Regions from separate parts of the Homo sapiens genome. Here region 1 is linked to region 2. The links are contacts of gene promoters, found by promoter capture Hi-C in human tissues and cell types (Jung and others, 2019). All regions are on one chromosome and are shown on one strand. The core of a region is centred on a gene start or on the middle of the fragment in contact, and the rest is flanking DNA. Distances in the headings are between cores, read along the strand shown. Region 1 overlaps CCDC57 (coiled-coil domain containing 57). Region 2 holds the start of GCGR (glucagon receptor).

Region 1 (4,866 bases), core at 1,218-3,717, 330 kb before region 2:
GGGGCTGGGCACAGTGGCTCACACCTGTAATCCCAGCACTTTGGGAGGCCGAGGCAGGTGGATCACGAGGTCAAGAGATCAAGACCATCCTGGCCAACAAGGTGAAACCCCGCGTCTACTAAAAATACAAAAATTAGCCAGGCATGGTGGCGGGTGCCTGTAATCCCAGCTACCCGGGAGGCTGAGGAAGGAGAACCGCTTGAACCAAGAAGTCAGAGGTTGCAGTGAGCCGAGATTGCGCCACTGCACTCCAGCCTGGCGACACAGCGAGACTCCATCTCAAAAAAAAAAAAAAGAAAAGTCTCCTGAAAGCTTTATTTTATTTGACATTTAGAATTCAATTTTGAGAAGGAAAAAAAAATGTCAGGAGATTTGAACATTAAGACTCATGGGTACCTGAGAAATAATATTTAGCTACCCACGTGAAAGTGACAAAAAGCTTAAACATAGGAGAGAACAGTTATAGAGAAACTTAGCTCTTTCATAAGCATGGGAAGCTTTGTTTTCTGAAACCATCAAGACATAATAAGTCAACAAAAGCACGGAAAATTACCCTGGTAAGACAGCACCTTTGCTGTCTGAACAGATTACATAGAAAGTAAAGAATAACCCTTCATAGTTTAGGGGAAGTCAATAAATAGTAAACGAAGGAAGGCTGGGTGCAGTGGCTCACGCCGGTAATCCCAGCACTTCGGGAGGCCGAGGTGGGCGGATCATAGGATGCTTGCAGGAGTTCAAGACCAGCCTGGCCAACACGGTGAAACCCCTTGTCTACTAAAAATACAAAAATTAGCCGGGCATGGTGGCAGGTGCCTGTAATCCAAGCTACTGAAGAGGCTGAGGCGGGAGAATTGCTTGAACCTGGGAAGTGGAGGTTGCAGTGAGCCAACATCACACCACTGCACTCCATCCAGCCTGGATGACAGAGCAAGACTCTGTCTCAAAAAAAAAAAAAAAAAAGTAGTACACCAAGGAAACAAACCCATCAAAATTGGGCTAACTTTGCTAAGATTTTAACACATTTCATGGCTTTTTAAAAAACTAGCTTTCTTTCAACCAAGTAAGGATTGAGAAAACAAGACCTAGCTTTCAGCTGGGTGCAGTGGCTCATGCCTCTAATCCCAGCCCTTTGGGAGGCCAAGGGAGGAGGATCACTTGAGGCTAGGAGTTTGAGACTAACCTGGGCAGAATAGTGACACCCTGTCTCTACTAAAAAACAAAAAACTTGGCTGGGTGTGGTCCCAGCTACTTGGGAGGCTGAGGTGGGAGGATCGCTTGAGCCCAGGAGGTGGAGGCTGCAGTGAGCCGCGATTGCACCACTGCACTCCAGCCTGGGTGACAGAGCAAGACTCTGTCTCAAAAAAACTAGTTTTCTTTTTTTTTTTTTTTTTTTGGTACTATACATATAAAATGTACTGTTGAAAGCTCATGAAGTATACAAAGTATACAGTTCAGTGCATTAAGCACGTCAAGAATGTTGTGCGAGCATCATCATTTGTTCCAGAATTCCTTTCACTTCAGAGGAAACCCCACACTCATTCGCAGTTGCTTCCTGTCCCCCGCCCAGCACCCACATTCTGCCTCCATGCCTTTGCCTGTTCTGGACGTTTCACTTCAGCAGGATCCCACAGGATGTGTCCCTTTGTGCCTGGCTTCTTTCCCTCTGTGTCCTGTTTGAGGGTCCCTCGTGCTGGGGCGTCTGCACTTAATTCCTTTCCATGGGAAGAGCTCTTTGCTGGGGGACAGGCCACTGTAGGCATTTGTCCATCAGTTTGATGGACATTTGGATGGTTTCCGCCTTTGGGCTATTGTGAATAATATTGCTGTGAACATTCAGTTCTCTTGGATGCCTCCCTAGAAGTGGCCTTGCTGGGTCATGTGGGAATTCTGTGTCTAACCTGGTAAGGAGCCACCAAACCGCCTCCCATGCCCACCAGCTGCGCACGAAGGTTCTGATTTCTCCACATCTGCACCAGCACTTGCTATTTTCTGTCGGGGTTTTTTTTAATTAAGAATACTTTTATTGCATATCTTTAAAAACTTTATTTTTTTTATATTTAAAAAAATTTCTTTTAAAAATAGAGGTGGGATCTCACTGTGTTGCCCACGCCAGTATCCAACACCTGACATCAAGGATCCCCCCCACCCGGCCTCCCAGTGTGCTGGGGTTACAGGTGTGAGCCACCGCACCCAGCTGTTTTCTATCCTGTTGATCCCAGCCAACCTAGTGGGTGTGAGGCGGGATCCCATAGTGGGCTTGATTTTACATTCTCCTGGTGACCAATGGTGTTGAGTGTCTTCAGGAGGTTTTTGCCCACACGTGCATCTTCTGACTTCATGGCTTTTAAATTCAGGTGTTTATAAACCAAGGGAAACACGTTCATTTCCAAGTGTCATCTTTGGGTTCTTTTATTGCGTAGAAGAAACTGATGCTTTACTTGAGGGCCCATCTCGGGATGTCCACAGGGCAGAGCTAATCCTGCGATGCTCCTCAGATGTTGATCATAAGCAATATGTTCATCATGGCTAACTTCAAGTTAATTGATAAAAAAGCTTTAAAATTTTTCTGTTTTGACCAGGCACATGGCTCACACCTGTATTCCCAGCACTTTGGGAGGCCAAGGCGGGCAGATCACCTGAGGTCGGGAATTCGAGACCAGCCTGACCAACATGGAGAAACCCCGTCTCTACTAAAAATACAAAATTAGCCGGGCGTGGTGGCGCATGCCTGTAATCCCAGCTACTTGGGAGGCTGAGGCAGGAGAATTGCTTGAACCCAGGAGGTGGATGTTCTGGGGGTGTCGAGATCGCGCCACTGCACTCCAGCCTGGGGGACAAGAGCGAAACTCCATCTCAAAAAAAAAAATGTCTGTTTCAATTTCCAATATGTGAAATGTCAACAGTTATAAACACCCTCCAAAAACCTTGTTGGAATCCTCAGTGAGTTTAACGAAACTGATTTGTAATCCTGGGAAATGTTATTTCAGTAATTATGTCTTCTGATGTGTCTGCTTAGAGAAGGAGCAGATCTTTACATAACATAACATGAATGGAATTGATGAAAGGATCTCGTTTGATGTGGGGTCATTTCTAAGTAAGCTAGCATGCCGAAGCTTTGAGTAGAACCATCATTTTTAAGTTGTTATACTTAAGCTTTTGCTTCTTTTGTTTGTTTGTTTGCTTGCTTTTTGAGATGGAGTTACCCAGGATGGAGTGCAGTGGCATGATCTCGGCTCGCTGCAACCTCTGCCTCCCGGGTTCAAGCAATTCTTCTGCCTCAGCCTCCCGAGTAGCTGGGATTACAGGTGCCCACCACCACGCCCAGCTAATTTTTGTATTTTTAGTAGAGACGGAGTTTCACCATGTTGGCCAGGCTGATCTCGAACTCCTGGCCTCAAGTGAGCAACCTGCCTCAGCCTCCCAAAGTGCTGGGATTACAGACGTGAGCCTCCGCACCTGGCAAGTTTTTGCTTCTTCTTTGTGCCTGCCACAGAAAGGGCGTCTGGGTGCTTCTGTTAGCGAATGTGCTTGCTGCCCCCGCTGTGAGGACAGCAAGGGCTGTGTGTGGCAGGGGCGTGGCATTGTGTGTGCAAGAGCTCTACCGAAATGCTGTGTGTCACAGTTCACTGTTGTCCGGCCCTCCCCAAGTTCTCGATGTAATGGAAGTTACTTTGGTTTTGAAAAGGAACATGCTGTTCTTTCTGAGTGTTTGCATTCAACACAAGAGGAATCCAGAAGTGATGCACAGAGAACAAACTCTGTCCCCATCCCATTCCCAGGGTGGCTGTTGCACCACGCCCTCCCTCCTGCCCCTGAGGCCCGGAAGCCAGGCGAGGAGCCCAGGAGGCCTTTGGATCGCAGCCCACCTTTGGGACAGGTGCAGCCCCATTTTACATCTCAGGTAACACCCCTTCATCTAAGACATGCATTTTTAAAAATATTTCCCTAATTGTGTCGTTTTCATTACAGAAACTTCAGATTACAATAAACACAATATAAAAAGCCTCCAATTTTCAGGATCCAGATATAGTTATTAGTAACATTTCAATGTGTTTTCTGCTGGGTTTTTGTTTTGTTTTGGTTTGGTTTTGGTTCTCATTTGTTTGTTTGTTTTTTGAGACAGTCTTGCTCTGTTGCCCAGGCTTGAGTGCAGTGGTGCAATCTCGGCTCACTACAACCTCCCCCTCCCGGTTCAAGCAATTCTCCTGAGTCAGCCTTCCGAGTTGCTGGGATTACAGGCATGCACCAACACGCCTGACTAATTTTTGTATTTTTAGTAGAGATGGGGTTTTACCATATTGGCCAGGCTGGTTTCAAACTCCTGACCTCAGGTGATCCACCCGCCTCTGCCTCCCAAAGTGCTGGGATTACAGGCATGAACCACCGCGCCCAGCCCCCATTTTTTTTTATTTTTTCATTACAAATTGTATCATGTATATGTTTTACTATAGCTTTACATATCTGGGTACTATTTTTTTAATCTGGTATGATAAGTGAAAAAAAAACCAAAAACTTCTATTTTTTTTTTTTTTTTTTTTTTTTGAGACAGGGCCTGGCTCTGTCACCCAGAACCCAAAAACTTCTTTTTTTTTTGTCCTTTGAGACAGGGCCTGGCTCTGTCACCCAGGCTGGAGTGCAGTGGTGCAATCACAGCTCACTGCAGCCTCGGCTTCCTAGGCTCAAGTGATCCTCCCACCTCAGCCTTCCAAGTAGCTGGGACCACAGGTGTGTACCACCATGCCTAATGGCTAATTTTTATATTTTTTGTTTAAATGGAGTTTTGCCATGTTGCCCAGGCTGGTCTTGAACTCCTGGGCTCAAGCGATCTGCCCACCATGGCCTCTCAAAGTACTGGGATTATGGGCA
Region 2 (4,736 bases), core at 1-2,500:
ACCAGGGCTTAGGGCCACCTGAGCTCCACTGCCCCGGCCGCTTTGCAGGGCTGGCACCCCGTGTCCTGTCCCATGTCCTCCCTGGCAGAACACGTGACTCTTGGGCGCTCCTGGCTGCGTCAGGCTCCACCGATTCCCACTGGGGGCGGCTGAGGGACCCGCAGACCTGGAGCTGGGCCCCCAGGATGGGTGGAGCGGCCACTGGTCCAGGAAGGCAGCGGGGCTCCCAGGGCGTCCGCAAGGGGCCTCTCAGACGCTTTGAGGAGCTCCGGGATGGGAGCCGGGATGTTTTTGTGAAACCAGAGAAGGTAGTGGAAGGTCAGGGCACCGGGGCGGGATCAGGGGCCACAGGCTGTTGACAAAGCCCTATCCCTGCGCCCTCACCCCGTGGGGGCGGGGCAGGCGTGGGTGCACCCAGACCCCCCAACCCTGATGTCCCCAATACCAAGGGCAGAGAGCAGCCCTGGCCGGTCCTTGGAGGATGCGGGCGCCGAGGGGGCCGGGGTCAGTCGGTTCAGAGTCGGAGCATAAGCCCGGTGGCCGAGTCGGCCGGGTGGTGGGGCGCCGGGGGGGCCGGAGCCGGGCAGGGCAGTGACCCGCTTGCCGGGGTCAAAGTCGCCAGTGTGGGCCGCGGAAGAGGAGCGGCCAGGCGGGGCGCAGACACCCCTCACCCCATCCTGGGCCGCGCCGGTGCCACCGGGCAGTCCTCGGGGCAGGAGCCCACCGAGGGGAGACAGCGCTGGTGAGACCCCGCGCCTCGGGGACGCGTCCGCGGCGCTTTGTGCGCTCCCCAGGGCGGCGGGGCCCGGGGCCCTGAGTGGGGAGTGTGGCCGCTGCAGTGTGGCCGCCGCAGGGCGCCAGGCGGCCAGCGACACCCCCGCCCCCAGCCGCGCCCCCCAGGACCAGAGAACGGGGGAGGGGCTGAGACCCCTGGACCTGCCCGACGGTGCAGGACCGGGTGGTGTCCGAGCCGGGGTTGGGAACGGGGGTGTCTGACGGGACTGAGGAGCGCACCAGCCCGGACCCCGGAGACCGCCCGGCCGGCTCCCCGCTCCCCGCGCCCCCGGCCCCGCCGCGCCCGCCCCGCGGTCTCTGTCCCCACCGGGTCGACTCCCCAACGTCCCCTCGGGGCCGCGGCCCAGGTGCTCACCGCGCGGCGCTGCTCGGGGGTCGGCTTGGCTCCCCGCCGTCCTCTGGGCGCGCTCGGGTCGGGCGCCGGTGACCGCTCGTCTTCGCGGCGCTGCCAGATCGGGGTCGGTGCAAACTTTCCGGCGGCGACGCAGGGCGAGGGCGGCGGCGGAGGGCGGGCTCGGGGGCGGCCCCGCGGGGGTGGGAGCGGCAGCCGAGGGTCCCCGCCCGCCCTCCGCGCAGCCTCCCGGCGAGCTTCGGTCCTGCCCACCCTGCGCAGGGAGCGCCTCGTACCCCGGCCATACGCAGACTCGGCGCGCTGAATTCCACCCCGCGGACCCGCGCCCCACAGACCTTTGTCCCACGGGTCCTGGTTCCGCAGACCCTAATCCTGCAGACCCCTGAGCCCGCGGACCCTGGCCCAGCAGGTGGTGGTCGCGGTGGGTCCCAGCTCCGGGAGGGGACGCCCTGGGACGCGGAGGGGCGCGCGGGCGTGGGGGCCGTGGCTCAGCCCCCCTTCCTCTCGCTCCCTCCGCCTCCCTGGGCGCCCCCTCGCCCCCTTCCTCTCGCGTCCCCGGGTTCTCGCCCCTTCTTTCCTGATGCCTGCCTGATTTTCTGGAAAGACCGACACCCCCAGTCGCCCCCACCGCGGCTCCCGGTTCCTTCCCCTGCAGAGCAGACGGGGGCTGGAGTAGGGGCCAACATGGGTGACATGGGTGGACCGGCAGGGCGGTCCCTGGGGTGCCCTTTAACTCTTTCTGTGCCACATCCCCGGTCTCTGGCCAGTCCTGTCGCGCTAAGGCCCCTCCAGCAGCGCTGACCCTGGTCCCCCACCTGCTGGTCCTGCGGCCGCGGGGCGCTCTCTCCTCCGTCCCACCCGCTCCTTCCACACCACCTCCTTTCCTGGGAGTGGAGAAGCCCCAGCCAGAACCCCTGCCTTCCCCAAGAGGCACGCTCAGAGGGACATTCTCCCCTTCCTCACTCCCCCTAGAGCCACATCACACCTGGCTTTGGGGCCCTAGAACCTCAGCCCGCGCCCCTCCCCTTCCACCCCCAGCCATCCCTGCTCTGTGCCCAGTGATCTTGGGGTCACCACAACCCCATGGCGCCTTGAGGCCTCACCTTTCCTGGCCTCTCAGCATCCTGGGACACTGATGGTCATGCCTTCCTTCTAGAAAGTTCTCTCCGAGGCTGTGGCTTCCAGGATGAGCACTCTCCTCCTCCCACTTCCTCCCCTTCTCCTTCCCCCTCCTCCCTTCTCCCTGGAGAGGTCTTCCTCCAAGTCCCAGTCTTCTTCCCCACCCAGAGCCCCTCCCGCTGACACTTGTCTGCAGTGCCTGTCTCCGCTCCCGCTAGGAAGCCTCCCCTCCGGCATCTCCAATCCATCTCTGGGTCCTGCTCCACCTGCATTTCCCTAGACCTGTCCTGGCCACCCTCACCCTGGGACACCTCCTGCCCGTGGAGAGCTCCTCTGATAGGTGCCGTCCTTGGTCTTGGGGGTCCTTTCTCCCTAATTCTACTTCTGTTTTGGGGGCGTGGGAACCCAGGGTCTTAACCCCAGCCATTCCCCCTCCCAGGGGCCACTTCCCTCTGAAGCTTAGCCCAGCTCTGTGACCCCCACAGGCCTGCCCCCACCTGGTCCTCACTCCCCTGCATAGCCACACTGTGGGGGCTCCATGCTTCCCAGCCCATAGGAAGCCCTGTTCCCAGAGGGGGCCATTCTGTTTTAGTTGGAGCAGTGGCCAGAGGCAAAGGTCAGAAGGCAAAGGTCATAAAAGTTTGTCTCTACCTGCCAGCATCTGCTCCTGCTACTGCATCTTCTCCCCTCTCCACCCAAACCCTCCCTCAGCTCCTGCCCCCACCTCTCCAGAGGCACAGACAACAGGGTTCTGATCTTGGGTCATGGTGCTCCCCCTGCCAGCCTCAGTCCGAGACCTCTGTGAATGGCGGTGATGGCTAATGGGATGAGGGGGACCACCTCCTGGTGGCTGCAGGGACTGGGGTGAGGGTGCTGTAGGCTCTGCCTAAGTCAAGTGCCATGGGGCTGAAGAGACGGCGCACCGGCCCTGGAGAAGAGTCCTCCCTGCCCTCCTGTGTCTGGCCTTGTTTCCTGGAGGACAGGTCCCCACGGGGCAGAGGCCCAGCAGTCCCAGGTAAGCGCTGGGTGGCCGGAGTCTGGTACCTGCAGGAAGAGAAGTAGAAGAATAAATTTGGAGTGTGTGAAGGGGGCAAAGCCTGAAAGGTTCGGACTCAGTGTGGGGAGGGAGAGGGAACAGATGGGGTGGGGCACCTCCCCTGGGCTGGGTGACCCTTATTTATATGACTGAATCCATGACAAGATTGTTTGCTTGACCAAACTGTAGTCCGGCTTCAGAACCTTCTCACAGGCTCATCTGCATTCTGCCTTATAAAATCCAGATTCAGCAAGAACTCTGCTAAGTCAGTTTGGCAAGAAGCCTCCATCCCCCCATATCTGATCAGGGTCCTCAGCCTCCGCCACCCCCAGGCGATGTCTGCTTACCTTGCCTGCCTTCAGCAAGCTTCCTTTTACCTGGGTAGGGTCCTCAGCTTCCACCACCCCCAGGCGACGTCTGCTCACCCTGGCTGCCCGCAGCAAGATTCCTGTTATCTGGGTAGAGTCCTCAGCCTCCGCCACCCCCAGGCGATGTCTGCTCACCTTGCCTGCCTTAAGCAAGATTCCTGTTACCTGGGTAGAGTCCTCAGCCTCTGCTACCCACAGGCAATGTCTGCTCACCCTGCCTGCCTTCAGCAGGCTTCCTTTTACCTGGGTAGGGTCCTCAGTTTCCGCCACCCCCAGGCAATATCTGCTCACCCTGGCTGCCTTCAGCAAGCTTCATTTTACCTTGGTAGGTTCCTTAGCCTCTGCCACCTCCAGGCCGTGTCTGCTAACCCTGTCTGCCGTCAGCAAGCTTCGTTTTACCTGGGTAGGTTCCTTAGCCTCTGCCACCTCCAGGCCGTGTCTGCTAACCCTGTCTGCCGTCAGCAAGCTTCATTTTACCTGGGTAGGGTTCTCAGCCTCCGCCACCCCCAGGCGATGTCTGCTAACCCTGCCTGCCCTCAGCAAGCTTCCTGTTTCCTGGGTTTAGCCAGAATCCTCCAGACAGGTGTTTCGTGCCAGTAATTTTCCACCCACTGACCCCGCCCTGCTCCTCAGATCTAAATCCCCACTTGCCTGTGCCACATTGAGAGTTGAGCCCAGGTCTATACTAAAATCTTTTTTCCCCTATTACAATAGTCCCGAACAAAATATGTGTTTCAACTGCTATCCAGTTCTGGTTTCCCTTGACATTGGTGAGACATATAAACAGAGGGCAGCTGGGAATGGAGGGGGCAGGGCCTTCCCAAGCAGCAGTGGGGGTGGGGGGACCTGCCCTCCATCCAGTCCCCAGGGTCCTACTCATTGCAGGGGGCCCTCCTGGAGGTGTGCTTGGTCCTGGGGCGGGCTGCAGCGGGGCTGGGGGCAGGTCTGCACCCCCCACCCCTGAGATGTGGGTTTGTCTATCTGTGCTGGGGATTCTGGAGACGGCACCTGCAGAACTTAATTTCGGTGTCCAGCAAGACTTATGGAGCCCATACTGCCAGCGAGA

The links. The method cuts DNA at HindIII sites, captures the fragments that hold promoters and counts their contacts. A contact is called where the count stands out against the background at its distance.
Region 1: a fragment that was not itself captured here is called in contact with the fragment with the promoter of GCGR in region 2 in 3 of the 25 tissues and cell types used here (dorsolateral prefrontal cortex, lymphoblastoid cells and spleen).

What each region holds. Positions count from the first base shown.
Region 1 is chr17:82,133,108-82,137,973 of GRCh38, reverse strand. CCDC57 (coiled-coil domain containing 57) reads left to right here. Exons shown (of 19, transcript NM_001394669.1): 16 at 3,780-3,901. Among named protein-coding and RNA genes, the nearest start is that of FASN, 37 kb to the right of the region's middle. The HindIII fragment of the contact is 3,997 bases long and covers 469-4,465 here.
Region 2 is chr17:81,800,664-81,805,399 of GRCh38, reverse strand. It overlaps GCGR (glucagon receptor), which reads right to left and starts at 1,250. Exons shown (of 14, transcript NM_000160.5): 1 at 1,151-1,250. It overlaps LOC105376789 (a long non-coding RNA gene), which reads left to right and starts at 655. Exons shown (of 4, transcript XR_001753046.3): 1 at 655-742; 2 at 3,050-4,073; 3 at 4,385-4,440; 4 at 4,672-4,736. RefSeq lists an enhancer at 1,282-1,781. The HindIII fragment of the contact is 39,466 bases long and covers 1-3,196 here.